Regions from separate parts of the Homo sapiens genome. Here regions 2, 3, 4, 5, 6 and 7 are each linked to region 1. Evidence: promoter capture Hi-C in 16 types of primary human blood cells and fetal thymus (Javierre and others, 2016). All regions are on one chromosome and are shown on one strand. Each heading gives the region's core, a stretch centred on a gene start or on the middle of the fragment in contact. The rest is flanking DNA. Distances are from core to core; before and after follow the strand shown. Region 1 holds the start of INTS4 (integrator complex subunit 4). Region 2 overlaps B3GNT6 (UDP-GlcNAc:betaGal beta-1,3-N-acetylglucosaminyltransferase 6). Region 3 overlaps LOC105369400 (a long non-coding RNA gene). Region 4 has its middle 41 kb from the start of NARS2. Region 5 overlaps PAK1 (p21 (RAC1) activated kinase 1). Region 6 holds the start of NARS2 (asparaginyl-tRNA synthetase 2, mitochondrial). Region 7 overlaps NARS2 (asparaginyl-tRNA synthetase 2, mitochondrial).

Region 1 (4,330 bases), core at 584-3,083:
TATGTAAGTGCTAGGCACATATCAGTTCTCCCTCCTCATCTTTTCAGCGGAGAAAAAAGAACAGAAGCACTAAGATCTCATTTAATCACTTTATGTTAACAACTGATGAAAAATTAAGTGAAGAAATTAGCTCTTCCCTTAAAATTCTTAGCCATTTCTATCCTAGTCCTCTCAAACTCAGTTTTCAGTCTTATCGAAGCTGTAGTTAGGTCAAAAGCTAGGAATTTTTTCCCTAAGTATTATATAAGGGAGAGGACAAGCAATATCAACTGTCATTCAACCACCAATAACACTTTAGTGAGCCAGGCCCTATTGTCCATCTCCAGGACACGGAGATGAGCCAGGCATTAGCTCTGCCATCAAGGACCTCCGACTGGTGGGAAGATAGGTACACCGGTAATGACAGCAGCACTGAACAAAAAGTACAAATAGATTAGTACCACAGAATGCTACAGAAACAGGTGAAGAAGAGACTAAGCTCTCGCTGAGGTTTCATTTGGGTCTTGAAGCACAAATGTTAAGTCCACTGGGTGGAGAACAAAAAGAAAGGGAAGAATGGCATGTATTCTGTGAGAAGAGACAACCAGTGCAAGAGTTTTGAGATATGCAAACACAAGAACACATGGCATATCTGGTCATGTGAGGATGGGTGGAAGAGGGCTGAGCAGTCTTGGGAAATGGGAACAACAGAATGTTGGGAAGAGAGGAAATCACATTGTGCAACAGTGCTAATGTTCTTAATGCCACTGAACTTTATACTTAAAATTGTTAAAATTGTAAATTTTATATTATGTATTGACATATTTTGTATTTGTATTAACATATTTTAATGCTGGATGAATGAATCCATGTAATGTTTAAGGATCAGTATCCTGCTGGATGCTCTAAGCCTTGCCACTCTACAAGTCTAAGGATCTAAGAATGCAACCAATGCACTGGTGTAAATTTGGGGGCATGTCAGGAATGCAGAATCTTGCCTCACCTCCTCTGCTTGACTTATCAAATAGAATCGACATTTGAACAACGTCCCCAGGTAATTTGTATACACATTAATATCTGAGAAATAGGACATCAGGATGATTTAGGATCAACCCTAGCAACATCTACGTGGAGACACATGGAGCATCACTGACTCCCGACAGGGACTCTGCCCACCTGTCACAACTTCATGGTGAGGAAGGTACTGCCCTCCTTCCTAGGTGAGCTGTTCTACCAATAGAGAGCTCTTCCCCTATGAAGTCTGTGACCCCCGCCTGCTTAGACTGCGCCTGAAGGAATTCTATAGACCCTTCTTTCAGCCCCTTAGAACCTTGTGTATATTCCAACTGGTCCCTGGGAGGTTTTTTTTTGGAACGGGGGTGCGGGGAGGCTAGAAGGGGCTCTGCTGCTAACTGGCTGTATCCTCGTACCCCTCCGGAAGGCTCAATGTCCACATCTGGAAAACGAGGATGCTAATGTAACGCGATGGAGCAAAGTTGTGTGAGAGAATAAAATGAAATAACGGATAAGACAGTTTCGTAAATTAAAAAACACTGTTTCTCCTAATAATTTTTTTAAAATCCTGTCAGACTTCACATATTAATGACAACAGCGGCTGCAAACTAACACGCCCACTAACTTGCAATATCAGAGATTATCAACAAGTCAGCACTTAACACGGGCGTATGGAGCCTCTTCTGTTCCGGCAAAGTGCCTGGGATTTGGATAATCTACCCTGGTCCGGATCGGTTCTGGATCTTTCCCGCCAGAGCTTACCTGAACCACTTTCGTGAATTCCTCATAAACCCGCTTCTTAAGGTGCGCCGCCATGCCTACCCGCGGGCCCTCTCAGCTTCCGTACACTAGGAGGGAGGCGGGGGTGGACGGATCCGGAAAACTTGCGTAGGCGCGGGGGGTGGGTGGATGACTTGCCGAGATCCCACAAGGCAGTGGGATTTGGGGAAAGAGCGACCGCTTCCTGTTGCTCGACTGCCTCGCCACTGTACGGACTGATTTGGCGGCCTACGCCGGAAGAACGGAAATAAGAGCTTCGCTTGTGGGAGGCGGGGCCTCTGGCGGGAGGAGCTGAGACTGAAAGGGTGGGCAACCCAATGGGAGCTTTGGGAGGCTGGTTGGTGGCCTCGGAGTGGCTAAGAGACTAGCGCGGCGCGGCGCGAAGGGAGGGAGGGAGGAAGTACAGGTTAAAGGGCAGAGGCGGGGTGCTCCAGAGCTAGAGGCAAAACCCGGAGCTCTGTAAGGGGTTTACGACTCGTGAAAAAACTCAGAGGCTCGGCTGACTTTCCCATCATCCTTTGCTGTACACGATGCTGTTTGTAGGTTTCCTGAGCACTGCCTTTGTTCAAGCTGTGCGCCACCTCTCTTGTTTTGGGGTGCCTTTCCATACTTCCTTATTCCAGTTTTGCAAAAGCTGCCATCCTTTAAGGCATCAATCCCTGCTCTGATAGCTATAGTACAGTAGAAGACTTCTGAGACCAAGGATAAAGCAACAAAGCTACAGACTACAGCTCTGGTTCTTGAGCAAATGGCTCAACTACAAATGCATTTATAATAACTAACCTGACAAAGATGTGACAATGGAGTGAAATAATGCAGGAACATTTTACGGACTGTAAGGTGTAGTGCACATGTTAGTGTCAGTAAATCCAAGGTCAAGTTTTACAACCTACATGAAACTAGCTGTTCATTATTTTGGTCTTTCAAAAGAATGTGGGCCAGGCGCGGTGGCTCATGCCTGTAATCCCAATACTTTGGCAGGCCGAGGCGGATGGATCACTTGAGGTCAGGAGTTCGAGACCAGCCTGGCCAACATGGGGAAACCCCGTCTCTACTAAAAATACAAAAATTAGTCGGGGCATGGTGGCACACGCCTGTAATCCCAGTTTCTTGGGAGGTTGAGGCAGAAGAATCACTTGAACATGGGAAGCGGAGGTTGCAGTGAGCCGAGATCGCGCCACTGCACTCCAGCCTGGGCGACTGAGCGAGACTCCGTTATCAAAAAAAAAAAAAAAGAATTAATGTGGGATAGTTTAAAAAAAAAAAAGCAGGAGGCTGAGGTGGATACAGAGGACCCAAAAATAAACAAAAGATAGTATTTATCCTCAAGGTCCTACAATCTGAGAAGACAGACACCCAAACTGATGGTGACAGTGCAACTGAAATGTGCTGGGTAACGGGAATGAATGTGGTTCAAACAGACCTAATTTCTTCAGAGTGCCTCAGGGAAGGCTTTCCTAAAATTAGAGGAAACTGGGAGTGGTGGCTCACGCCTATAATCCCAGCACTTTGAGAGGCCGAGGCGGGCAGATCACCTAGTTCAGAAGTTTTGAGACCAGCCTGGGCAACATGGCGAAATCTACTTTAAAAATACAAAATTTAGCTGGGCATGATGGTGGCCCACGCCTGAAGTCCCAGCTACTCTGGAGGCTGAGGCGGGAAAATCGCTTGGGCCTGGGATGTGGAGGTTGCAGTGAGCCGAGATCCAGCCACTGCACTCCAGCCTGGGCAACGGAGTGAGACCCTGTCTCCAAAAAAAAAAAAAAAAAAAAAAAAGGCTGGGCGCGGTGGCTCACCCCTATAATCCCAACACTTTGGGAGGCCGAGGCAGGCGGATCACCTGAGGTCGGGAGTTCGAGACCAGCCTGGCCAACATGGTGAAACCCCGTCTCTCCTAAAAATACAAAAACTAGCCGGGCGTCGGGGTGGGTGACTGTAATCCTAGCTACACGGGAGGCTGAAGCAGGAGAATCGTTTGAACCCAGGTGGCAGCGGCTGCAGTGCGCCGAGATCGGGCCTCTGTACTCCAGCCTGAGCAACAGAGCGAGACTCTGTCTCAAGAAAAAAAAAAGAAAAAAAAAGGAAACTATTTCTAATGCAGCTTTAAAAGAATGAGTTTTTCCAGAAACAAAGGCATCCCAGACCGCCGAGATAAGATATACAAATATGTCAAGGGAAATGAAAAACATTTAGCAAACAGTACCTTTAATAAAGCTTAGCTGCTATTATTACCATTATCATATTCTATCAAATCTAAGCTGCCAGCAATTGTAAAATCAATATTTTATTTATTATGTTAAGAAAAGAAATGCTGAAATTAAATACAATGGTTTCTAATTGCTTAGATTTGTTATGTATACTTACAGAAACAGCTCTTTTTAACTTATTTAGACATAGATTTGTATCTTACCTCGCACTGCTGTTTCCATGTCTTCCTGTGCACATAAGAACTTTTTAATGCCAAATTATAGGGTAATCTATTTGGAGATATATTTAATAGTAATTTAAAATAACACATGTAATTCCAAAATTGCACAGAGCTCAGTCGAAGCGATGA
Region 2 (4,330 bases), core at 1,313-3,812, 950 kb before region 1:
CACGCTCCTGTAGAGCGCCTCAACTACTCCAAAAGCTGAAGTGGGAGGACTGCTTGAGCCTAGGTGGTCAAGACTGCAGTGAGTCATGATGGTGTCACTGCACTCCAGCCTGGGTGACACAGCAAGACCCTGTCTCAAATAAATAAATAGCCAACGGTCTGAGATGCAGAACCTGATGTGACTGAATTTTTAGCAGGGCACAGTTAAATACGGGAAAGGTTGTTCTGACCTGGGATTCGTCCTGGGGGTCTTCATAAAAGCCAGGCCTGAGGTGCACCTGGGCAGGCTACATGCAGGAGAGGGCCTGAAGGTGAATGTTTGGGAACAGCAAATAATACCAGCAGGTAGAATGAGGAGGCAGAGCTAGAGGATGCCGTGGAGATCATCTCACCCATAAGGTCATATCACCCGTGTCACCCAGTCACTGGCCACTTCATACTCATTTCATGCTCACAACAGCCCTGCAGTAGGAATTCACTAACCCTTCGTCACAGATGAGAACACTCAGACCCAGCCATCGGAACTGACTGTTCAGACGGTGCAGATGGGGAAGTGGGGATGGCAGAATTCGGCTCTGGGTCTGAGTTCAGTGCTATCACCTCATGCTTCCTCGACTCGGGAGGCAACGAGGGGAAGTGATTAGAGATGATCCGAGCTGGACAGAGGCGGAGAGGAGGGAATAAATGAGAGGGATGTAGGGCGCAGAATCAACAGGATGCGGAGAGCAGGTAGCAGCTGAGAAGGACAAGGAAGAAGGCTGGGGCTTCTGGCTGGAGTAGTCAGGTGAACGGAGGTGGGAACAGCAGGGTATGGGTTCAGGGGAAGATGGAGACTCAGACGATGAGTCCACTGGGCCTATGTGACGGGTTGTGGGGCGGTGTTGTCAGGAGGCAAAGAGAGACTCAAATCTGAAGGTCAGAGGAACGGTCCGGAGTGTGGGAGACCAGAGACCGTCAGTGTAATCTTGGATTTTGATTCCTTTTTACCACTTAACAGCAGAGTTGAGAAGGGGCTGGAGCTGGGTTCTGGGAGAGAAGTGACGGGGTACGGGTGGTGTCCTGCCGGTGTCAAAGACGACTTCCGGCTCACCTCTGACTCGGTTTCCCCCACAGATGGCTTTTCCCTGCCGCAGGTCCCTGACTGCCAAGACTCTGGCCTGCCTCCTGGTGGGCGTGAGTTTCTTAGCACTGCAGCAGTGGTTCCTCCAGGCGCCAAGGTCCCCGCGGGAGGAGAGGTCCCCGCAGGAGGAGACGCCAGAGGGTCCCACCGACGCTCCCGCGGCTGACGAGCCGCCCTCGGAGCTCGTCCCCGGGCCCCCGTGCGTGGCGAACGCCTCGGCGAACGCCACGGCCGACTTCGAGCAGCTGCCCGCGCGCATCCAGGACTTCCTGCGGTACCGCCACTGCCGCCACTTCCCGCTGCTTTGGGACGCACCGGCCAAGTGCGCCGGCGGCCGAGGCGTGTTCCTGCTCCTGGCGGTGAAGTCGGCGCCTGAGCACTACGAGCGACGCGAGCTCATCCGGCGCACGTGGGGGCAAGAGCGCAGCTACGGCGGGCGGCCAGTGCGCCGCCTCTTTCTATTGGGCACCCCGGGCCCCGAGGACGAGGCGCGCGCGGAGCGGCTGGCGGAGCTGGTGGCGCTGGAGGCGCGCGAGCACGGCGACGTGCTGCAGTGGGCCTTCGCGGACACCTTCCTCAACCTCACGCTCAAGCACCTGCACTTGCTCGACTGGCTGGCTGCACGCTGCCCGCACGCGCGCTTTCTGCTCAGCGGCGACGACGACGTGTTCGTGCACACCGCCAACGTAGTCCGCTTCCTGCAGGCGCAGCCACCCGGCCGCCACCTGTTCTCCGGCCAGCTCATGGAGGGCTCCGTGCCCATCCGCGACAGCTGGAGCAAGTACTTCGTGCCGCCGCAGCTCTTCCCCGGGTCCGCTTACCCGGTGTACTGCAGCGGCGGCGGCTTCCTCCTGTCCGGCCCCACGGCCCGGGCCCTGCGCGCGGCCGCCCGCCACACCCCGCTCTTCCCCATCGACGACGCCTACATGGGCATGTGTCTGGAGCGCGCCGGCCTGGCGCCCAGCGGCCACGAGGGCATCCGACCCTTCGGCGTGCAGCTGCCTGGCGCACAGCAGTCCTCCTTCGACCCCTGCATGTACCGCGAGTTGCTGCTAGTGCACCGCTTCGCGCCCTACGAGATGCTGCTCATGTGGAAGGCGCTGCACAGCCCCGCGCTCAGCTGTGACCGGGGACACCGGGTCTCCTGAGGCCAGTTGGGCGGCTTCAGCCCCGGGCCTCCAACCATGTCCATGCTGAGAAGGCAGCTTTCCCGCTCTGGGTACCTTACGTCCTGCCCAGCTCTGTGCACCTGAACCCCAGCTGCGCACTGAAATCAGCTGGGGTGGGGGGTGTGGAAAATGCCTACATCCTGGCTCCATCTCCCGAAGTTTCGATTTGATTAGTCTGGGGTGGACCCAGACATGTTAAGTATTTTTTAAGTTCCTCCAGTGATGCGAATGTGCAGCTAGGCCTGAGGACCACTCGGCTAGACTATCTCTTCATCCTCGCAAAGCCAGCTCCACCGCCCTCTCTGCAAGAATTCCGGGCCCCTCGCTCCCACACTCGGGTCCTCTTGAGCAGTGGAGCAAGGGAGACCTGGGAGCGTGGGAGCCAGGATCAGCGCCCCCTGCCATGTGCCTACAAATGTCAGTTGTGATTTCCACTGTTTACAAGTGAGTGGAGCTGGAGCTGGGCTGACAGTATCAGGTGGATCCCGCTTCCCCCTCCCCCAAGAAGTCAGCCAACACGCAGCTGAGGCGCATGTGGTGGCCTTCTTCCCACCACTACCCCAGTACACCGTGAGGTAGAAATCTTCACCGTGCAAAGTGGAAACCAGAGGCCCGGTCAGACAGTGACTAATCCAGGGCCGTGGCATTCCCAGACAGCACACCACTGTGGTCCCCTCCACACTCACCCCAACCAAAGCTAATGGCCTAGTTGGGTCCTGCCCGCCAATAATCACCCCCACGGGTCAGAGACAGGCTCCTTGCCGGGGTCTGGGCCTCAGGCTCAGTGGGCCTTGGACAACCCAGCAGGGAGTTCCGGGGAGTCCGAAGTGGAGAAAGGCTGGTGGGAACATGGAGGCCAGTGTTGGGGAGCCTGTGGAGGCAGGTGTGTAGAATTGTGTTCGGGAGGTGGGGGATCTGAGACCGAAGTGGACAGTGGTTAAGATTGTGGGGCCGGGCGAGGTGGCTCACGCCTGTAATCCCAGCACTTTGGGAGGCTGAGGAGGTCGGATCATGAGGTCAAGAGTTCGAGACCAGCCTGGCCAATATGGTGAAACCCCGTCTCTATTGGGAGTACAAAAATTAGCCGGCCATAGTGGCTCGTGCCTGTAATCTCAGCTATTTGGGAGGCTGAGGCAGGAGAATCACTTGAACCTGGGAGGCGGAGGTTGCAGTGAGCCGAGATCGTGCCACTGCACTCCAGCCTGGGCGACAGAGCAAGACTGCATCTCAAAAAAAAAAAAAAAAAGGAGAGTTTGCAAGGGTGGGTGGGAACTTGGTGCCTGGGGCTCTGAGAACCAGGCTGTGGTCCTGACCTCCAGCAGCTGCCAGTCATCTTGGCAACATAGAAAATCAAGGAAACGGCCTAAAGGCAGGCAGAAGTGTGTGTCAGCAAGGTCCCAACTATGTAAGATGGACACGAGGGACTCACCTTCAGGGAGGAAAGAGCCGGGGCAGAACGTCAGGAGACTGGCCAAAGGTCCTTCCCTGCCTTCAGGACGAAGACTAGACTCCTCAGTCCTGCATTTCAGGCTCCTGCCACCCGCCTGCTGCTCACTGATCCCTCCCTCCCACTGTCAGCCTCCATCCAGGTGGCAGTGCCTGCGCTTTGTCAGGCTCTCTCTTGTCTCTGCATTTTGCACAAGCTCTGACCTAGTTACCGAAATGTCCTCCAACCACCTCCATCCTGCATGTCTCTTGCACCAGTTAGGACGCCTGTCGGGGAAGCTGCCAGCTGCCCACCTGAGTCGGCTGTTCCCTTCCTCCTGGGCACTCACCTAGACTCCATTTCCCAGCACTCCGTCCCCTGAAGTTAGATGTGGCCCTGTGACTAGGCCCTCATGGATGGACGGGAGTGGATGAGGATCACTGTGGCACCTGGGCCTGCTTATGCTCTCTTCCTCCTTCCCATTCGCTGGAACATGGATGGGCCTGGGACCCAGCTCTGACTTTGCAAGTGAGGACAATGCTTCAGGCCCAAGTGGAAGTTTCTCAACTACTGACATTTGGGGCAGGACGGTTCTTTGTTGTGGGGGGCAGTCCCG
Region 3 (4,330 bases), core at 1,064-3,563, 930 kb before region 1:
GGTTACACCATGTTGGCCAGGGTGGTTTCAAACTCATGCCCTCAAGCAGTCCACCTACTTCAGCCATCCAAAGTGCTGGCATTACTGGCAGGAGCCACCGCTCCCAGCTGACTTCTAAACCATAATTTCTAATCTTGTGGCTAATTTATTAGTCCTACAAAGGCAGTCTGGTCCCCAGGCAAAAGGAAGTTTCTTTTGGGAAAGGGCTATTGTTACCTTTGTTTCAAAGTTAAACTATAACTATCTCCCAAAATTAGTTCTTACACCCCAAAATGAACAAGGGTAGCTGGGAGGTTAGAAGCAAGGTGGAGTCAGTTAGGTCAGATCTCTTTTACTGGCATAATTTTCTCACTGTTATAATTTTTGCGAAGGCAGTTTTAGAACTGGGAACCCAGAGCAGAATCAGTCAGAGCTCCATCAGCTGGGGAGTGGGGGCAGATGTACACATATCAGCCTAGGGGCAGGGTGGGGGCAGGTGCCGCTGCCTCTGGGCCCCAGATTGCACAGGGAGGACGCAGGCACCCCTCCTGCCCACCCTTACTCTTGAACCCTGCCAGCTGCTGCTGGCCTGTAGGACGCTGGAGAATCCAGGGACCCTGGGGACCCACAGGCCCCTCTTTGGCAATATGCAGGCAGCAGCCCCAGGTGCCGGCTTGGCTCCAGTTCTCTCCACTGGCTGGGGTCTTGGGCGGGATTTTCTCACTCCCAGGGTCGCGGGGCTACATCAGGAGCTTGCAGGGCCTGGCAGGAGGATTTAGGTGGACACTCCTAGCACTTGGGAAAACAGTCTGGCAGTTCCTCAAAAAGTTAAACATGGAGTTACCCTATGACCCAGGAAGTCCACTCCCAGACATATACCCGAGAGAGCTGAAGACAGATGTCCACTCCAAATCTTGCACATGCAGCCTGGGTTACACAGTGAGACTCCATCTCCACAAAAAAATAAAAATAAAAATTAGCCGGGCATGGGGATGCATGCCTGTAGTCCCAGCTATTAGGGAGGCTGAGGTGTGAGAATCAGTTGAGCCTGAGAAGTCGAGGCTGCAATGAGCCGTGATCACACCACTGCACTCCAGCCTGGGCCACAGAGTGAAAGCTTGTCTCAAAAAAAACCTTGCACATGAATATTCAAAGCATTATTCACAGTAGCCAAAGAGTGGAAAAATCCCAAATGTCTGTCAACAGATGAATGAATAAACAAAATGTGGTATATTCATACAATGGAATATTATCCAGCCCTAAAAAAGAATGAAGTACAGATCCATGCTACAACATAGATGGACCTTGCAAACATTATGCTAAGTGAAAGAAGCTAGACTTTGGAAGGCCAAGGCAGGAGGATCACTTGAGACCAGGAGCTGGAGATGAGCCTAGGCAACAGAGTATGACTCTGTCTCTACAAAAATTAAAAAGTTAGCTGGGCACATTGGCACACACCTGTAGTCCCACCTATTCAGGAGGCTGAGGCAGGAGGATTGCTTGAGCCCAGGAGTTTGAGGCTGCAGTGAGCTGTCATCACGTGACTGCACTCCAACCTGAGCAACAGAGTGAGACCCTGTCCCCCCGCAAAAAAAAAGAAAAGAAAAGAAAGAAAGAAGCCAGACTCAAAAGGCCACATATTGTATGATTTCAGTATATGAAATACCTGCAATAGCCAAATCCATTGAGATAGGATTTGAGGTTGCCAGGGGATAAGGGGATAAGGGGAGGGGGAAATGGAGAATGCTTGGGTATGAGGTTTCTATTGGGGTGGTGAAAATCCCGACCTCTAGATTAGCAGAGCATCCAGTTTCTCTGTATTAGAGCCCTCCATCCAATTATAAAGAAGAATCCAATGGGGAGCGTGCTTCCTCTATCCAATGGACCAGTAGTGTTTCCAAATCTCCACAAGCAGTGCCTTGTGGAGATGTTACTGGAAAGGACTCCCAATCTGAAATTAGATAGTGGTGATGGTTGCACAGTTTTGTAAATATACTAAAAACTACTGCATTTTATACTTTAAAGGATGAATTTTATGGCATGTAAATGATATCTCAATAAGAAAAATTAAAAAGATATAGTCAGAGAAGTGTCACTCCCTGCTCTTCCCTGCCATCCTATCCCATTCAACAGTTCTTTCCACTCCTTTCCACCTGTCCCTGTAGGTAGCCAATCGCACCAGTTTCTGATCTTTCCTTCTTGTACTTCTCTGCATAGATGAGCAGACACCTGTGTATGTTCTTATATTGTCTTCTCTCTCCATGTGTGTTCTGGGATTCACACTATCAATTCAATGTGCTCCTCCTCATTTTCTTTTACAGCTGCTTAATGCTCCATTGCTTGGATATACTACAATTTATTCAACCACTCTCCCACTTGTGGGTATGTAGATTGTTTCCAATATTTGCAATTAAAAAGAACGCGTCACTGAAAAAGGCTTTGCATGTGTATTTCCATACTGCCAGAGGTATGGGTTCTGAGTAGATTCCGAGAAGTGGAGTTGCCTCGGGTTAAAGGGTACATGCGTATGTAATTTTCTTAGGTATTACCAATTCCCCTAGAATTGTACCAAATTGTACCAAATTGTATTCCCACCAGCAACAGCTGTGAGTGACTGTTTCCCTACAACTTGGTGAACAGAATGTGTTGTGATCTTTTTTATTGTCAGTCTGAAAAGTGAAAAATGGCATCTCACTGTAGAGCGATTTGCCTCGCTCTAATTACCAGTGTCCTTGAATATTTTTTTCATAAGTTTGAGGGCCATTTTAATATCTTTTTTGGTTAGTTACCTGTTGGTGCCTTTCCCCTCACTTTACCATTGGATTTGGTGGTTTGTGGTATTTTGTTATAGCAGCCCGAGCTGACTAAGACAGGTGGCTTTGTTTTTTACACTTAGATCCCTAATCCATTCAGTTTATTCTTTTGTTGGATGTGTGCTATGGTTTAGATGTTTGTCCCCTCCGAGGCTCATGTTCAAATGTGATTTCTAGGGTTGGAGTGGGGCCTGATGGGAGGTGTTTGGCTCATGGAGGTGGTCCCTCATGAATAGATTAATGCCTTCCCTGGGGGTGAGTGACTTCTCACTCTCTTAGTTCCTGGGAGAGCTGCTTGTTGAAAGATTCTGGCACCCTCTCCCCTCTCTCTTGCTTCTCCTCTTGCCATGTGATATCTGCTCACATCAGCTCTCCTTCACCTTCCACCATGAGTGGAAGCAGCCTGAGGCCCTCACCAGATGCCCAGTCTTGAACTTTCCAACCATCAGAATTATGGGCCAAATAAACCTTTTTTCTTTATAAATCACCCAGTCTCAGGTATTCCTTTGCAGCAACACAACACAAAATATGACAGTGTAACATATGGATTTAATTTTATCTTTTTCCAAATGGCTCCCAGTTGTCCCGGCATTATCTATTGCAAAGTCTATGTTTAGTGTGTAGCAAAGGCAACATCTCAAATTAGTGGGGTAAAGATGTTTTGGGTCTAATCCTAGATTTTCTAGTCTATTCCAATTTATCTATTCATGTACCAGAACCATCCCAGTTTTAATTACAGAAGCTTTTTTTTAATTTTTTTTTTAATGTCTGGCAAGTCTAGTTTTCTCTCATGGTTTTTCTTTTCCAATGTCTTCTTATCTGTTCTTGCAAGTTTATTTTTCTATGTGAACTTTTGTATCAACATGTCTATCTTCATAAAATACCTTGCTGTTTCTTTTATTGGGATTACATGGAGTTTAACATTAACTTAGGGAGGACTAACACCATTACAATGTTGACTTTTCCTGTGCAAACAAAGGGATATTTTTCTGTTTGTTTTCCTTTCGTGTCTTTCAAAAATGTTCTAAAAATTTCATCATGGCCAGGCGTGATGGCTTACGCCTATAATCCCAGCACTTTGGGAGGCCAAGGTGGGCAGATCACCTGAGTTCAGGGGTTTGAGACCAGCCTGGCCAACATGGTGAAACCCCATCTCTACTAAAAATAAGAAAATTAGCCAGGTGTGGTGATGCACACCTGTAATTCCATCTACTAAGGAGGCTGAGACACAAGAATCACTTGAACCCAGGAGGCGGAAGTGAGCTGAGATTGCGCTACTGCACTCCAGCCTGGCGACAGAGTGAAACTCTGTTTAAAAAAAAAAAAAAAAAAAATCCTCATATAGGTTTATACATAAAGGCCATTATATTTTACATGTTAATTTTGTATCCTGCTACTTCACTGAACTCCTTTACTATTTGAATTAGTTTTATCATTGATTCTCTGGGGTTCTTCAGGTATATTATGCCGTATGTAAATAGAAATAGTTCTCCTTCTTCTTTACCATTCTTAGACCTCCAATTGATTTATCTTGTCTA
Region 4 (4,330 bases), core at 817-3,316, 620 kb after region 1:
GAGTAAGCAGATTGCCCTTCCTGACATGGGTGGGCCTCATCCAATCAATTGAAGTCCTAAGTAGAACCAAATGGCTGACATTCCTCATGTAAGAGAGAATTCCTCCTGCTGGCCTGTCTGCCTTTGAACTGGGACGTGGACTTTTCCCTGCCTTCACATTCAAACTCAAAGATAGGCATTTCCTGGTTCCCAAACCTGCCAGTCTTTGGACTGGAACTACGTCATCAGTTCTGGGTCTCAGTCCTTTGGACTCAAACCAGAACAACATAATTGGCTCTCTTGAGTCTCTAACTTCCCGACTCACCCTGCAGGTCTTGGAAATTAAGACCAGCCTGGGCAACAAAGCAAGATCTCGTCATTACAGATAATAATAACAAAGTTAGCCCGGCATGGTGGCATGCACCTGTAGTCCCAGCTACTTGGGAAGCTGAGGTGTGAGTATTGCTTGAGCCCAGGAGGCCGAGGCTGCAGTGAACTATGATTGTGCCACTGTACTTAAACCTGGGTGACCAAGTGAAACAGTGAGACCCTGTCTCAATTTTTTTTCTTTTTGTCTTTGATTTTCTGCAGTTTCAATATAATATGCCTGTGTGTAAATGTCTTGATATATATCCTGCTTGGTGTTTTCTGGGCTTCTTGGATCTGTGGTATGGTGTCTATCATTATTCTGGAAAATTCTTAGTCATTTGGAGTAATTATTTTGTTCCTTTCTTCTCCTTCTGATATTCCCTTTACATGTATGTTATACCATTTGTCATTGCCCCACATTTCTTGGCTATTACATTCTATTCCTCCCCCCCTCCACTTGCTTCCAATTTGCTTTTCATTTTGGGGTTTTTATTGACATATCTTTAAGTTCATTGATTATTTCCTCATCTGTGTCCAGTCTACTGGTGAAGCCATCAAAGGCATTCTTCATTTCTGTTATATATTTTTTTGATTTTAAAGATTCCTTTTGAATTATTTTTAGAGTTCCCATTTCTCTGCTTACATAACCATCTGTTTTACATGTTGGTAACATTTTCATTAGCGCTCTTAGCATATTAATTATAGTTCTTTCAAGTTTCTTGTCTGATAGTTCCAAATTTTGTGTCATACCTGAGTCTGGTTCTGAAGCTTGTTCTAGCTCTTAGACTATGTTTCTGCTTTCTAGCATGCCTTGCCATTTTTGTTCAAAGCTGGACATGATGTATTGACTAAAAGAAACTGAGTTAAATAGGCTTGTATCGTGAGGTTTTGTGTTTATCTGGCTAAAAGCTAGGTTAGGTTTACTATTTGCCATAGCTGTAGGTGTCAGAGGCTAAAACTTGCTCTAATGTCCTTGTTTCTGTCTCCCTGTTGTCTTTGGATTTTTTTCCTTCTTTTCTTTTTTTTTTCTTTGAGACAGAGTCTTACTCTGTTGCTCAGGCTGGAGTGCACTGGCGCAATGCAACTTCCGCCTCCTGGGTTCAAGCAATTCTCCTGACTCAGCCTCCCAAGTAGTTGGGGTTACAGTCATGCGCCACCACGCCCAGATAATTTTTGTATTTTTAGTAGAGATAGGGTTTTGCCATGTTGGCCAGGCTAGTCTCGAACTCCTGACCTCAGGTGATCCACCTGCCTCAGCCTCCCAAAGTGCTGGGATTATAGGCATGAGCCACCGTACCCAGCCTGTCTTTGGATTTCTTTAGAGACTCCTTCCAAAGCCAGCCTGAGCCTTGAAGTTATTTCAGTTGTAATCCCCTGTTATTATGTAGGAGCCTGACTGATGTGGTGGTAAGGAGAGGTATATTAGGATTCTCTAGAGGGTCAGCATTAATAGAATAGATATATGTATGAAGGGGAGTTTATTAAGGAGTATTGACTCACACGATCACAAGGTGAGTCCCGTAATAGGCGGTCTGCAAGTTGAGGAGCAAGGAAGCTAGTCCAAGTCCCAAAACCTCAAAAGTAGGGAAGCCAACAGTGCAACCTTCAGTTGTGGCTGAAGGCCCGAGATCCCCTGGCAAACCACTGGTATAAGTCCAAGAGTCCAAAAGCTGAAGAACTTGGAGTCCGATGTTCAGGGACAGGAAGTATCCAGCACAGGAGAAAGAGGAAGGCCGGAAGATTCAGTAAAGTCAAGTCCTTCCATATTCTTCTTCTACCTGCTTTTATCCTAGCCATGCTGGCAGCTGATTAGATGGTGCCTATCCAGATTGAGGGTGGATCTGCTTCTCCCAGTCCACCCACTCAAATGTTAATCTCCTTTGGCAATACTCTCACAGACACACCCAGGAACAATACTTTGTATCTTTCAATCCAATGAAGTTGACACTCAATATTAACCATCACAACAGAGGAAGCATTCTATAATTCTAATGTTATGTCTTATTCTGCTAGTCTTTTATTGAGCCTATGTCCTAGGGCTATAACCTTCCCAAGTGCTTCTCAGCTCTTTTTCCTCCCTTAGGTAGGGCAAGAAGGCTAGAAGGTTTTGGAATTGGGTATTTTTCATTCTCTGGGTAGGTAAGGCTCTGGAAAATAATTTCCCTGAGGGAAGGCTTTTGTTAAGAAGAACAGAATGCTGTAGGTGTATTTCACAATCATTGCTTTTTCCTCCCCCTGGTGGAAGCGTGAAAGGATTTTTCTCTGAGAACCTGGTGGGGTTCCTAAGGACAAACTCATAAAAGTGTGGGGATCTCCCTAAAATTGAGCCCCCAGAGTTTTAACTCTCAAACTAGTACACAGGGAGCCTCCAGTGATTTGCCAATTACAGTTTGCTTAAGCATTCCTACCACATTAACAACTTCAGTGAGATAATTTTCATGTGACTCAAAATTGAGAAGAAACGAAAGAAAATATTGATAATTTGTATATTAAAAATTCCTTTGCACAGCAAAACTCATTGCAAACAAAGTTAAAAGACAAATGACAACTAGGAAAATATTTGCTACTCAAACGACAAATAAAGGCCTAAATATTTTAAAAATTGAGAAAAAAGGACAATTATTTAGAAAAGTGGACAAAAGATAGAAACATACATTTTACAGAAACAAAAGCTTTTCCATATGTGAAAACTTGCTTAACCTCAGTCATGAGATATACAAATTAAAACTTGCTTATGTTGTTGATTTATCAGTTTTCATTTATCAGATTGGTAAACATCCAGAATTTTGACAACATAGTCTATTGGGAAGGCTGTATGGGAATTAGGCACTCTGGCACTCTAACACATTTCTGGGAGAATTGTGAATGACACAACTTTGGAATGGAATTTGGCAACATACTAGCAAAATTCATTTACTTTTTTATTGTTGTTTAGAGACAGGGTCACCAAGGCCCCCAGGCTGGTCCTGAACCTCTGGCCCCAAGTGATCCTCCCACCTTGACCCCACAAAGTGCTAAGACCACAGACATGAGCCACCAAGCTTGGCCTCATTTACCTTTTGACTCAGCAATCTTACTTCCAGAAGTATGGAAGTGTGATTCCAGAAGTGTGATTCCAAAGATATTATCAACAAAAATAAAATACAACTTATGCATTTCATTGTGATTTAATTTATAATAACAAATGATTGGGGATATCTCAAATGTTTGTTAATAGGGGACTAGTTGAAGAAATGATGGTACAACCACACAATGAAGTACTAGGAAGCCGTGAAAACTGATGAAAAGATCACTGTGTATTGATATAGAGTGATTTCTAGAATATATTGTTAGGTGGGGGAAAAATTAAGGTACAAAACAAGGTTTAGTATGCCAATTTTTGCAAAATAAAATAAAATAGAATAAAATAAAATAGCAAACCAAAATCTATTAAGGTGTTCCATGTGAAGAGAGAGAGAACAGCATGTAGAAGATAGGCATAGTAGTGAGATTTCTGTAAATTTAGGTTATATAGTTTTGACTTTGAAACCATGTAAATGTTTTACATGCTTAAGAAAAGATTAAATGAAGAAAAAATCATACCAGTCCTTAACAATACAAAATTTCTTCAAGTGATGCAATTTTGTTTTGATACAACAAGAACAAAAAAAGCTATAAAAATCTTAAATGATATTCAGTAGTCTTATCGTCATTTTGAAACTCTAAGTTTATTGTAGAATAAAGCAAATAAGTAATTATGTTGTGTTTTGAAATCAAGGTTTTCAACATAAGAAAGAAAACTAAGTATGAAATCAAAAGAGTTTAGTAAAAACCATGTAATTTGTCCAGGCACAGTGGCTCACACCTATAATCCCAGTACTCAGGGGACCAAGGTGGGAGAATTACTTGGGTCCAGGAGTTTGAAACCAGCCTGGGCAACATAGGGAGATCTTGTCTCTACCAAAAAAAAAAAAATTAGTTGAGTGTGGCGATATGCACCTGT
Region 5 (4,330 bases), core at 1,308-3,807, 580 kb before region 1:
AAAAAATTTGCTGAGTAGAAATCAGTTCAAAAAGCCAGTCATCAAAGGGGAAGATAATTAACCTATATAGTCCCCTTTCCCAGACTATAATCTTTCTCTTTCTACACACAAATAACCACTATCTTGTCCAGGCCACCCTCTTCTTCAAAAGAGCACTGTCTTCTCCTCCAGGCCTCCTCCTCCTCCTGTCCCTCCAACCCATCCCTGCTATCCTCCCTCTTCTTTCCTGGGCTACCTCCTTTCCTCCAGATCAGCACTATCTCACAGCTGCCAGAGTTTCTGGTCCTCCCAGTCACTCATCTCACTAAAGGGAACTTGAGCCTCTGCCCAGCACTACTTGACATTCTTGCTCTCCTCCCACTCAGGCCCCCCACTTCCCATCTTGCTTATTCCCTACTGCCTACCTGCTTGCTGCCCCACCACCACCAGCAAAGATGGGAAACAAATGCAGGAAGAGGGAGTGCTTGTTGGCAGGCCCAAGGCAAGGCACAGAGGCAGTAAAGAGAGAGAATGGTCCTGGGGAAGATAGAATTTGGAGGTAAAAGCTAGATGCAAGTGAGTTAGGTAGAAAACAATGTTTGGACCTCATAAACACAGGAAAAGGTCTCTACAAACCAGTAACCTACTAATAATAAGAAAGCTTAACCAAAAATTTTAGAAAAGAGAAGAAAGCCTAATCAAGAGGGGGAGGATCCAAGAGAGGGAAGGAAAGACTGGCTACACAGGGGGAGAAATACAAAAGGGGAAGCATGAGGGGAGGAGGAAGGGTGAAGGGGACGGCGGGAGAAAAGGTAGGCAGGGGGCAGGAAAAATGATCAGGAGGAGGAAATAGAAAGAAAAGTGAGGAGAGGAAGACGTAGAGTCATGAAAAAACTAGGGGGAGGAAAGAGGTCCAAAATAATCAAAGTAGGTTATTATCGGGCCTGACATGAGCTTCTTGGTGCCAGGTAATAAAGAAGGAAAGAATTATAGTGATTAAGATATTACCACAGCCAGGTCTGTCATTAACTTAGCAGAATAAGGAAGGGGCTCCAGAGAAGAGAGTCTAGTTTAACGCAACTTTATACCTAAGGACAGAAAAACTGGCCAGTTTAGAATCATTAACATACCTTGACCTTCTACTTCCCAACCCTACCTCCCTACACCTAACACACCTACGCATCACACTAAAATAAGCATCAGCATTCTCAGTCTCTGCTTTGTCCCTGAAGAACCACCAAGATGCCATTCAAAAGGCTGGCTGGAAGACAGGATACCAAGGTCTACTTCCCAAGTTCTCCTCTCTTCTACAGTGTTGAGGGGGACATCTCTGCAGCCCATTTTAGCACTTTAAACCAGCTCACCTCTCCAAAAGATGGTTTGACAGTCTGGAAAAGCCAGAGTAACAAACAATGTCAAGTCCTTCACTGCACAGATATGGCAACTCAAGCCACAGAGGATGTCTGAATAGGACCAGTCCCCCCAGGTCTCCTCCCTCCCAGTTCACTCAACCTCTTAACACAGAAAAGCCCCCACAGTCCCAGCAGGCCAGCGACTAAGCCAAGGCAGAGGAAAGCACCACGTTGGCCACCAAGCAGAAGGGCGCTTGCAAAGGAGCAGAGCTTCTGAGGCTGAGCGGTTCCCCAAAGGCGCAGCTTCCCCTTCACACCCTTCCCTGGGCAGAGCTCTGATTCCAGTGCAGGCCTAGCCCTGGGTGGGCTCATCTAAAGGTTCCACCCTCAGCCCTTTCTCTCATTTAGGGTCCCTTAAGGTAAGAGGAAAGTAAGACACCCCTCAAAATCTACTGGACCCCGTGTCACCACTCTCCGAAAGCCGGCGGAGATCCCCCAGAACCCGGCCCAGCTAGGGGAGCCCCAGGCAGGGCCGGCATTACCTGGTGGGGAAGGCTAGCCCCGGCATCTCTGGCGATTGTTTCCGTCGCAGAGCCGCACCTCTCCCTGCCCAACCGGGTACCCACAAGGCCCCTGCTCCACCGGCTCCGCTCGATTCAGCTGGGCTGGGCTCCTGGCAGCTCAGCCGCCAGCTCCCGAGGTGCAGCACGCTCGCGCTCTCGCAGGGCGGCAGCGAAGGCGCCGCGTCGGGGTTGGCGAAACAGAAGGGGCGGGGGAAGAAAGGAGGGAAGGAGGCGGGAGGAAGCCGCGCGCTTCTCCTTTTCTGCAAAGCAGAGCTGAGGGCGGGGAGACAGCTATCTTCCCACCCTCTCAGCTATTCTCCCCACCCAGTCTCCAGCAGGAGGTAATTTCTCTCCAGGGCCAGGTTTTCCAGGGCTTGTCAGAGTCCTGTGTGAGCTCCAGAGTCAAGAAAGACAACCAGAGCTCCTCTGTGCCTTAGTTTCTACAGATGAGTATAGAGGAGTCCCTTCTAAGATTCCTCAGGTCAGACCTACGATTCAGATTAGGCCTCAGAGAAAGAGATACACCTCCCCCCTCCCCAAACGTGCCAGGTTCTAATTCTAATGCTCCAGGAAGAATGCTAGGTGGGCCCCTATAGCTGCCTCTAAGCAAACAAAGCTCAGCAGCTGCTACATTATTATTATTATTATTTTGAGACAAGAGTCTTGCTGTGTGCCCAGGCTGGAGTGCAGTGGTTGGATCTTGACTCACTGCAGCCTTGACCTTCCTGGGCTCAAGTAATCCTCCCACCTCAGCCTCCCAAGTAGCTGGGACTACAGGTACCTGCCACCACACCCAGTTATTTTTATATTTTTTGTACAGATGGGGTCTGCCATGTTGCCCAGGCTGGTCTCAAATCCTGTTCTCAAGCAATCCTCTTCCCTTGGCCTCCCAAACTGTGGATTACAGGCATGAGCCACCACACCTAGCCACTGCTACCATTTATTAAGAACTATTATGTACTAGGTACTTTATAAATGTTATGTCTCTCTCAAAACAACCTTATGAAGTAGGCACTATACCAATTCACATACGTCAAAACGGAGGTCCAGGGAAAATGTCCAGGGCTCATACAATAAGTATTTTTTAACCAACTATTGTGCATCAGGCATTGTGATGGAACCTGAGCTGAACAACACATTATAGAACATTTACCAACACGGCCCAGACTAGTAGTGCCTCTAGTAGTGCCTCCCAATTACTGAAACAATAAAACACACCTTCACACATTTGCAAATGCTCCCTAGGAGGTAGTATTACCTCACTCTTCCCCCTCCCAAACCCTGCTCTTAAGAGACATGACAGAAGTCAGATTATGCGGTGTCTCTTTCGGGTCATAATTAGGAGTTAGGCTTTTGTTCCAAGTTTTAGCAGTGGGAAGGCTTTGAAAGGTTTGAAAGCAGAATGACAAACTCTAACTTACATTTTTTAAAAGATCACTGGCTGTTCAGTGGAGAAAGGGGGTAGGAGTGGAAATAAGTTAATAACTTCTCTCAGAGGTTCAGGCAACAGAAAATAGTAATGATTTAGACTAACATATTGTAAGATAATGTAAAAAGAAGCAAGCCTATTTTCTAAAGACACAGCTTGGAAGAAGCAGCAGCAGAACTTGGTGGAAAACAGAATACGATGGTGAAAGAAGTCAGTGACTTCTCCAAGACCACACATCTGGTAAATGCTCAGGAGTTCAAGGCCAGCCTGGCCAACATGGTGAAACCCCGTCTCTACTAAAAACACAAAAAATTAGCTGGATGGTGGCAGGCACCTGTAATCCCAGCTACTCGGGAGGCTGAGGCAGGAGAATCCCTTGAACCCAGGAGGCGGAAGTTGCAGTGAGCTGAGATCGCACCACTGGACTCCAGCCTGGGCAACAAGAGCGAAACTCCATCTCAAAAAAAGAAAAAGGAAAAAAAGGAAAGAAAAGGAAGGAAGGAAGGAAGAAAAGAAAGAAAGAAAGAATTGGTCAATAATAGACACCCGGAGAATTGCTGTAGTCTGAGGATTCAGCTTCAAAGTCATTTTAAGACTTTTTTTTAACCCCACACCATGTCCTTCATCCCAATTTACACAGGGTGAATGAGAGCCAGAAGCAGTCCTCTGCCTTAGACACAGCTTTTCAAACTAATAAGCAATAATCATAGCAACTTATCTTACTCGACTTCCCACCCCATGCAGCATCCTCTTATAGATGGTCTTCCAGGCTTTTCTGAAATACATGCAGGAATGAGGAGCTCACTTTCCACCAGCACTATGAGGCAGTGTTTCCTCACATTCAGCCAGGTGGCTCTCTGTAAATTTCTAATTCTGCTCCAGGAGCAACGTCCTCCAGGGCAAGTCACATTAAAGGCTTGCAACTATGTATGTATGTAGGCTAATTTATTATGCCCCTCCACTTTTTCTCTTCTCCAAGATAAATACTCCCAGTTCTTTTAGTCGTT
Region 6 (4,330 bases), core at 1,293-3,792, 580 kb after region 1:
AAAAACTTAACGAAGTGGTTATCATTTTAGAGCTGATGAAACATTATTTAGAGATGTCACGATAACCTCTCTAAATAGTCCAGGACATAGTCACCGATTAGTAGAGTTGAGATTCAAAAGGAATTTCTTACTTCAAAGTTCATGTTCTTATCAACGAGCTTTTCTGGGATGCTATTATAATTCTGCCCCATCCCCAGCTCCTCTGCCTAGGGAACACATCTTTCAGGACTTGGCTGAAATATCACCTCATGCAAGATATCTTCCTTAACCTTCTCAGTTACGTAACTTCCTGTTTTCTTATAGTTCTTTACTTACCTTACTACCAACTATCCTATTGCTAAAATTATTTGTTTTAACCATTGGAGCAGGGCTGTCCAACAGAAACATAATGTGAGTCACATGTTTAATTTAAAATTTCTTTTTGTGGCCACGTTAAACATAAAAATAGATGAAATATTTCACTTTAACCTATTATGCCCCAAATATTATCAACATATAATCAATATAAAAACATATTGAGATATTTTGCATTCTTTTTGGTTCTTCAAAATTGGTATGTATTTTACACTTATAGCACATCTCAATTTGGACCAGACAAAGTTCAAGTGCTCAGAGCCAAAAGTGGCTGGTAGCTACCATATCAGACCTCACAGGACTAAACTGAAATCCTCTAACCTGGGCAGCAGGTTCTCTTTTCATCTTTGAATTTTCTCTTGACTAGCACACAAAGTATCATTAATGTATACCCAATCAATAGACCAACAGACCTATGGAAAGAATATGGAACTCAAAGAGGAGCAGATTGGTCATACCGCTAAAAAGTAAAGGATATGTGAGGACAACAGAAATCACTGCAACGGCAAGCCATGACTGTGTCAGTACAATCATGGGTGACAAAGCAAGAACCTACTCAAAAAATAAGTATTTATTATAACAACATCTACCAGGCTTATGCCTGTAATCCCAGCATTTTGGGATGCCGAAGGAGGAGGACTGCTTGAGTCCAGGAGTTTGAGACCAGCCTGGGCAATACAGTGAGACTCATCTTCACAAAAAACTTAAAAAATTATAGAGTGTGGTGGTGCATGCCTATAGTTTCAGCTACTCTGGAGGCCGAGGCAGGAGGATTGCTTGAGCCTGGGAGATGGAGGTTGTAGTCATCTGAGATCACATCACTGCGCTCCAGTCTGGGTGACAGAGCTAGACCCTGTCTCAAAAAATAAATAACCACATCAGTGTACTTCAGCAACCTAATAAGAAACAGTCAAACACCTTGTTTATTCTGCACCTCTTCTATGTGGAGCTGCTGCAAATAATATAATCAGCAAGAGAAACAATAGCAGCTAACATTTGTAGACTATGAGCCACTGTTCTAAATATCTTACTTCCATTACCTCATTTAATTTTCAGGACTCAGGGACAATTATTATCTCTTTCCATAAGAGGAAAATAAGGTGTAGAACGCATAAACGCTATGCAGAGATTTAAACCTAAGCAGCTTAACTCCAGAGCTCTTTCAAACTGCTACATTCCAGTCTTTCTCCGAATTCATTAAAAATAAATTACATGCAGACCCCCACAATAGGCACTGAGGTCGCTAAAAGTTTAAAAGGCATGGTTTGAACAAGTATTTGCTGTCAGCCATGTGTGAATACAAAGGCAGGTAAGACACGGTTTCTGCTCTCAAGGAGGGAGGTCAAGACAACCACTTTATAAACCTGGATATTCATTATAAGGGATAAAGATAGAGAAAGGGGGCTTGTTCATTTACACTTTTGGTATGATTAACAAGTTTACAGGTAATACCCTGGAATCATGAAAGCAAAGTTCCAGCGCTTTACAGTTATCGGAACAGTTTTGTGAAAAGTAATGGAAATCAGAAAAGTGCAAACCCGCGACGCCTACACTTTCTAACTTTTCCCTGCTGGCGGTTGTGTCTGACCCGACTGTAAAAGAAAAGCTAGATGTGGATGTGCCATATAAAAGTCCCTACAAGAAAAAACCCACTCCCTTCCCATTCACCAACCTGGATCTTAATGCGCTCCCCACTCGCGTTCTGAGCCCCGAGAGCGTCCCGCACGCTCAGTTTGGCTGAAGGTTTGTGCTTGGGGAAGGGGGCGGAGGAACAGAAGCGCACGGACCGCAGCAGGCAGCGGACCCCCAGCATCCCGCGTCCGCCCAGGCCCTCCGCGGGAGCAGCCCAGACCCCACGGTTCGAACCCCGCCTGCAGCGGCCCTCCTTTCTCAGCTGCTCCCCTTCCGCGGCCGCAGCTCTGCTCTAAGGCACTCCAGAGCCCCTCGGCTGCGCGCTTTCTCCTTCAGGACTCCCAGCTCTGTCCCCACAGAACCTCTCCGCTTCCCACTTCCCAACGGGGCGGAATGGACAGGACACTAGGCAAACGCCAGAAAGAAACCACGTGCAGTTGGCAGCTGGGGCGCCCCACTACCCGCGACAATTGTAAACCTACGAACAGAACCCGGGCCGCAACACGCGCAACCACTCCTACCACACCACGCCAACGCCGCTTACGTCATCACGCTACGGGGAAGAAGGGAGAGCATGCGTACTTGTGACCCAGGCTTAGGGAGGCGTGCGGGAGGGGGCGGGGTCAGGAGCCGAGACGGGGCGGAGCTAATGCCCTAAGGTTGTAGAGATTATCGCTGAAAGAACGTGGGAGCACATCTGAGGGTCTTCATTTCTAAAGTTTCCAGGTGAGGCTGAGAAACTGAGAGGCAAGGAGTGACTGATGGAGAGGGAAACCGTCTCCATCAGTCAACAATAGGGATCCAAGTAAGAGGAGGCTCTTAGCTGTTAACAGGATTCGCTTGAAGAGATCAGTCGTTCCTTTCCTGAGTACTCCGCAGAGAAAAATCAGACATAGCCCCAATGCGCAAGTCACAGTTGTGTGGTATCAGACAGCTAAACAGACAGTTGCATAAAAGGGCGATCAGTTTGCCTGACAGAGCCTAAGCGTGGGACGCCAGAGATGGCTTCCTGGAGAAAGTAGTCCTCTGACAGGTAAATAAAAGGAACTGGAGGGACCTTGCATATGGCAGGCAAGACGGTGGGAAGATGTTGCAGAGACTGGAGGAAACTCGAGTGTTTCCTGCCAGAATCCTCCAAGTCTCCCTCTTCCCTCTGCCCTCCAACACAGCTATCTGCATTTGTTTGACCTGGAAACAATGACCCTTTTATATATTAGGCTACGTTTTATTAAAAAAAAAATTCTGTAACTCAATGACGGTCATTAAAAGGTTTTTAATCTAATTTAAAAAGTAAAACGTTTGGCCAAGTGCGGTGGCTCACGCCTGTAATCCCAACTCTTAGGGAGGCAGAAGCAGGAGGATTGCTTCAGCCCAGGAGTTCAAGACCAGCGCTCGCCCTCGCTGTCTCTCTCCCGCTCCCTCTCACTCTCACTCTCTCTCTCTCACTTTTACCTTACTTAAAGTTGCTACTATTATTATACCCATTTTACAAATGAGAGAACTTACGCACAGAAAGGCTAGATGACCTACTTAAGGATACACATTCCCTAAGTGTGAGATTTAAACCCAGAAGTGCTGGCTCTATGCACTTAAGCAGTATGCTGTATTACATAGTGTCCCAAGGTGATCTGTTCCATCAAGGAGCTCATGCTTTAGAGATGGAGACAAGCAAGAAAAGAGACTACTGAAATATAAACCAGTAAGTGCACACATAGATGTATGAGTTGTCTGCATTTGTTTGGACTGAAAAGTCACCCTTATATATTAGGCTACCTCTTAAATTTATCCAAAAAATTATTTTTGATATTTTATCCAAATATTATATTGGATAAAATATAATACAATTATAATATATACATGTATCACAATTTTATATTTTATATAATATAAATGTGTTCCCTGGTTCTTTTAATAAATTAAAATTATAAATATAATAAAATTATAATTATAAATTATAATATATAATTAAATTATATTGGATATATTATATATTATATACTTATAATATAAAATATGTTGGATAAAATATAATATAGTCTAGAGAAGGAGAAAATTAAGCTGAATTTTTGAAGTGGATCAATATTTTGCCAGGTAGGCATGTAAGAAAATTTCCTGCCAGAAGGTGAACACGGAAGGTTGCCAGGAGGGCAAATGGCCTGGAAAAATTGTAAAATCATTCTTAAGACAGGCTAGAAAATATCTCATCTGAAAATACTTGATGTTGGAGGTGGAACCTAGTGAGAAGTGTTTGGATCATGAAGGCCTTGGTGCCACCCTTGCAGGAGTGAATTCTCAGTCCATTAGTTTTTGCAAAGCTGATTGTTGAAAAGAGCCTGGCACCCCC
Region 7 (4,330 bases), core at 1,042-3,541, 550 kb after region 1:
TTATGGGTCCTTTATAGATCATGATAAGGAGTTTGAATTTTATTCTAAGATCACAGAGCAGCCACTGAAATGTAAGCATGGGGTTGTGGCATGATGAGTTAAAAAATTCTTCTAGTGTCTTAGCGGAGAACAGATAATAAAGGGATAAGAGTAGAAGTAGGGGCACCAATCAGAAGACAAGAAGAGTAGCTTGAATTAAACTGGTAACATTGGAAACAGAGAAATGGAGAGGTTGAGGATTTATGTTAAAGATGAGCCAACAAAGGACGGATAAATTAGATGTGAGGTTTGGGGAGACAGGCAGGGGAGGTATGAATTAAGTCTGACATCTAGATTTTTTACTTAAGCAAATGAGTAGATGGTAACTTTCACTGAGATAAAAAAAGAAGAGGAAAAGGCTTTGGAGGAAAAAATCAAGAGGTTTATTTAATACATACTATGTTTGAATGCATATTAGACATCAAAGGAGAAATGTCAAGTAGGCAGATGCTTCTACAAATCTGGAGCTCAGAAACAGAACCTGGAGATAAACAGTTTGGGACTGCAGATAAACAGTTTGGCAGTCAGTATGTAGATGGTATGGTACATAAAGCCTTGGAAGTGAATAAAATCGCCAGGGGAGAGATTACAGATTAGTGCTTCTCATTGATGATGATAGTGTTCCCTAGAAAATACTTCAGGAGTCTGTAGAGCATTTAGTGGGCAGGAGTCCAACATGTCCTGCAATATATACAAAGTCCTGCGTAACTAAGCCTTTTCCTGCAATCTCCCAAGTTCCCAATGCTCTGTTAAGGCATTCATATAGTCTATCAACAAAACCACGTGGATTTGAGCTATCTGATAAACAAAGTCATTCCTTTTATCTATCTTCTATAGAGGGTCTTGGTATAAGATTTTGTTTGGAAAACACTTTTGAACAAAAATGTTTGAAAATCAATATAAAGGATGATTACCTCCCATCCTAAACAGTCCATGATAGACTAACCTTTCCCTGATCATATAAAACTTACGTTAGTGCAATAAAACTTAACCTAGCCTTTCTCTATTATGCAAAACAAAAATTTTTGCTAGGTTATTCTGCCACTGGAAGACAGTAAATAGCACAGCCAAGAAAGGGGAAACCAAGAGCTACCAAAAAAATTTTTTTAATGTGTGTATCCCAGTGAATTTCTTACCACACGGATCTAAAATCCTCCCTGTTTCTTTGAGGATTTCCAAGAAAATATTAAACAAGTATTTTGAATTGCCCTCCAGTTATTTGTTCTCACAGCAGAACAAATTTAGCTGAGCAGTTTCACAATCTCAGGAGAATTAAATAGAAAAACCCACACAAGTCCGACTCTGTCTCCATGTAAAATATATAGCAAGGAGCGAGAGTAAATAGCAGTAAGCTGAACAGTGGAAAGGAATATAATCAACAATGGAAAACTTATTTGACCTCTACAATCACTGAAACACCCAATCTATTTTTATCTCCTTTTACTTTTTCCATTTTCTACTTTGTACCCTACCCCCACCTTTTACCCAGTTCTATTTACTCATAATCCCAGAGACAAAAAGTTGGGAAGAGAATACATAAAGATGAAGCATGGTTCAGAAATTTAAAAGGTTTAAAATCATAATGGCATGCTATTGTCCTGTTTACCTCAATCTGCAATTTCCTTTGAAGATCATGAAGAAAAGGGAGAGTACTCACCATCTGTAAGCTCCATATAACCACTGAATATCCTATTTTCTTTCTTGATCCCAATTAAGAGATTAGAGGGAGGCTATGCCTTTCACGATACAGATAGTAAAGAATAAAAAAATCTAAGTTAGATAAAACTTTAATTTTTTCACGCCTGTAATCCCAGCACTTTGGGAGGCCAAGGTAGGCGCATCACCTGAGGTCAGGAGTTCGAGACCAGCCTGGTCAACATGGTGAAACCCCATCTCTACTAAAAATACAAAAATTAGCCAGGCGTGGTGGCGCACGCCTGTATTCCCAGCTACTTGGGAGGCTCAGTCATGAGAATTGCTTGACTCTGGGAGGCAGAGGTTGTTGTGAGCTGAAACTAGTACTATTGTACTCCAGCCTGAGTGACAACAGTGAAACTCCATCTCAAAAAAAAAAATTTTAATTCAACTTCCCTCTTGTAAAAGATGCTAAAGCTTAAAAATGTTAAATGTCAAATGTTAGAATAAATGTTATATACAACTACTTTTTGGTAAGATCAGTTGTAGAATCCAGGTTTCTCAGCTTCTAGTACAATCACCTTTCCAATAAGTCATGTCACTTTTTTTTTTTTTTTGAGATAAGGTCTTGCTATGTCGCCCAGGCTGGTCTTGAACTCCTGGGCTCAAGTGATCCTCTCACCTCTGCCTTCCGATGGGACTACAGGCATATACCACTGTGCCCAGCTCTCGCATTTTTTATCCTGTAGTGTTGAAATAAAGCTTTGGATTAAAATGCTTTTAATATTAGTCTCTCCTAAGTATGAAATGCTGATCATATAACATAAAACAAGCCAGGTGTAGTGGAGGGTGCCTGTAATTCCAGCTACTCGGGAGGCTGAGGCAGGAGGATCACTTGAGTCCAGGAGTTTGAGGTCAATGAGTTATGATCATACCACTGCACTCCAGCCTAGGTGAGAGAGTAAGACTCTGCCTCTAAAATCAATCAACCAACCAAGCAATCAATCATAGGAACTAAATCTGTCATACAGTCTCCAAAGATTTGTGGGTTGGTAGTTTCATGATCCCTATCAAGCTGTATCTCAAATGCAGTTGCTATCATTGCTGCAGAAATTGTTCTGCATGCCATTAGACTGCATCTCATACGTAAAAACCAAAGCCAAGGGAAACAGGCTCAATAAACTGCATTCTATTTTGCCGGTTATGTTAGTTTTGGGATTTGCCTATTAACAAGCCATATATGTAGGTCTTTCACTAATCTAAAAATTTCCAATAAGTCCAGTTTATGTTTCCATACTTTCCACTTGCTACAAATGTGTATCTTGGTGTACACAGAACTGCTAGTATAAAAATAATCTTTCTTAAAATAAGGGTTCATTTACATTCCAGAACACCCACTAACTAGAACACCCACTCAGCCCTGAGAAAGGTTTCATTTAAACAACTATTTGATCAGCAGGAAAGGAAGTTATTAAGTCAGACTGTTTGTAAACAGTGTTTTCCTGCTGAGCAGTCTGAGAAAGAATGAATCAAGAAAAGACGCGTGGAGTCTAATATTAGAGGGTAAGGTTGAGGCAAAACAGAAAGTGAATATACAATGCTGCCTTATTTTTCTTTTACAGGAGATAAACACAAATGTAAAATTGCAAAACAGCAAACTTATTCCTAAATGTAAAGGGGTCGGTGAAAAATGAACCAAACTTTTTTTCACTATTGCTTGAAAAATATTAATTTTGGCTTATTCATTGTCAGATTGGGGCTTTAAGGATGAATATGATAAGATATGGTCCTAGTCCGTTAACTAGGACTTCTGTGAGAAGGGATACCTATGCTCCAGAGTTAAGTCTCCAAACCACGTATCCACACAAAGGACTTGACTACCACTAAACACAGCAGGTACTCAATAAATACTTATAAATCCCAGCACTTCGGTGGGGTGGAGGCAGGAGGATTGCTTGAGACCAGGAGTTCAAGACCAGCCTGAGCAACATAGTGAGACCCTGACTCTACTTTAAAAATTAGCTGGGTGTGGTGGTGCGCACCTGTAGTTTTAGTAACTCTAGAGGCTGGAGTGGGTGGATCACTTGAGCTCAGGAGGTCAAGGCTGCAGACAGCCATGATCGCTGGCTCATCACTGCACTCCCAACAGGGCGACAGAGCGAGACCTTGGGTCAAAACAAACCCCCCCACAAAATATACTTTCTTGCAGTTGCTGCAAGGAGGAAGTTAAGTTATTGATAACTGGAACAGAAGGGCTTGGTTGCCCTTTACCTCTGGCTGTGGTAATCAAGAGTAAGTTAGCCAAGTACGGTGGTGGGTGCCTGTAATCCCAGCCACTAGGGAGGCTGAGGCACAAGAACTGCTTGAACCCAGGAGGCAGAGGTTGCAGTGGGCTGAGATGGTGCCACTGCACTCTAGCCTGGGCAACAGAGCAAAACTACGTGTCAAAAAAAAAGAATAAGCCATTATAAAGCATACTCATATAAAAGTCACGATTTTGATGCTATCCAAAGATTATCCAAAAGGGATTCACATCATTTTTTGAGATCAAAGTGTCTCTTGAAGTCAACAATGCCATGGAATGCTTCCTTCAAAGATGGCATGCATAAAATAAATGTCTAATTTCCAACAAAAACCAATTTCCCCTAATAATTAG

What was found. Contacts are between HindIII fragments. The CHiCAGO score rates a contact against its expected background, and 5 or more counts as called.
Region 2: a fragment that was not itself captured here is called in contact with the fragment with the promoter of INTS4 in region 1 in 1 of 17 cell types (naive CD4 T cells); the score reaches 5.7 in naive CD4 T cells.
Region 3: a contact is called between a fragment that was not itself captured here and the fragment with the promoter of INTS4 in region 1, in 1 of 17 cell types (naive CD8 T cells). The highest score is 6.1, in naive CD8 T cells.
Region 4: a contact is called between a fragment that was not itself captured here and the fragment with the promoter of INTS4 in region 1, in 1 of 17 cell types (neutrophils). The highest score is 5.3, in neutrophils.
Region 5: a contact is called between a fragment that was not itself captured here and the fragment with the promoter of INTS4 in region 1, in 1 of 17 cell types (non-activated CD4 T cells). The highest score is 5.8, in non-activated CD4 T cells.
Region 6: the fragment with the promoter of NARS2 here is called in contact with the fragment with the promoter of INTS4 in region 1 in 16 of 17 cell types (neutrophils, fetal thymus, activated CD4 T cells and 13 more); the score reaches 31.8 in neutrophils.
Region 7: a contact is called between a fragment that was not itself captured here and the fragment with the promoter of INTS4 in region 1, in 2 of 17 cell types (naive B cells and total B cells). The highest score is 7.1, in naive B cells.

The regions. Positions count from the first base shown.
Region 1 is chr11:77,992,835-77,997,164 of GRCh38, forward strand. It overlaps INTS4 (integrator complex subunit 4), which reads right to left and starts at 1,834. Exons shown (of 23, transcript NM_033547.4): 1 at 1,756-1,834. The coding sequence starts at 1,809. RefSeq lists an enhancer at 1,749-1,948 and a silencer at 2,149-2,218. The HindIII fragment of the contact is 5,814 bases long and covers 1-3,985 here.
Region 2 is chr11:77,038,440-77,042,769 of GRCh38, forward strand. B3GNT6 (UDP-GlcNAc:betaGal beta-1,3-N-acetylglucosaminyltransferase 6) reads left to right here. Exons shown (of 2, transcript NM_138706.5): 2 at 1,113-3,534. The coding sequence starts at 1,113. The coding sequence ends at 2,267. Among named protein-coding and RNA genes, the nearest start is that of ACER3-AS1, 4.9 kb to the left of the region's middle. The HindIII fragment of the contact is 8,137 bases long and covers 1-4,330 here.
Region 3 is chr11:77,057,601-77,061,930 of GRCh38, forward strand. It overlaps LOC105369400 (a long non-coding RNA gene), which reads right to left. Exons shown (of 3, transcript XR_950341.1): 2 at 1,767-1,930; 3 at 801-930. Among named protein-coding and RNA genes, the nearest start is that of CAPN5, 7.2 kb to the right of the region's middle. The HindIII fragment of the contact is 2,438 bases long and covers 1,095-3,532 here.
Region 4 is chr11:78,613,354-78,617,683 of GRCh38, forward strand. No RefSeq gene overlaps it. Among named protein-coding and RNA genes, the nearest start is that of NARS2, 41 kb to the left of the region's middle. The HindIII fragment of the contact is 1,904 bases long and covers 1,115-3,018 here.
Region 5 is chr11:77,409,901-77,414,230 of GRCh38, forward strand. All of the region lies in intron 1 of PAK1 (p21 (RAC1) activated kinase 1), which reads right to left. Among named protein-coding and RNA genes, the nearest start is that of PAK1, 62 kb to the right of the region's middle. RefSeq lists an enhancer at 1,619-1,738. The HindIII fragment of the contact is 3,839 bases long and covers 639-4,330 here.
Region 6 is chr11:78,572,322-78,576,651 of GRCh38, forward strand. NARS2 (asparaginyl-tRNA synthetase 2, mitochondrial) reads right to left here and starts at 2,543. Exons shown (of 14, transcript NM_024678.6): 1 at 2,027-2,543. The coding sequence starts at 2,167. RefSeq lists enhancers at 1,929-2,038, 2,699-2,838. The HindIII fragment of the contact is 10,208 bases long and covers 1-4,330 here.
Region 7 is chr11:78,539,058-78,543,387 of GRCh38, forward strand. All of the region lies in intron 5 of NARS2 (asparaginyl-tRNA synthetase 2, mitochondrial), which reads right to left. The region is part of intron 1 of NARS2-AS1 (NARS2 antisense RNA 1); the gene reads left to right. Among named protein-coding and RNA genes, the nearest start is that of NARS2-AS1, 8.0 kb to the left of the region's middle. The HindIII fragment of the contact is 285 bases long and covers 2,150-2,434 here.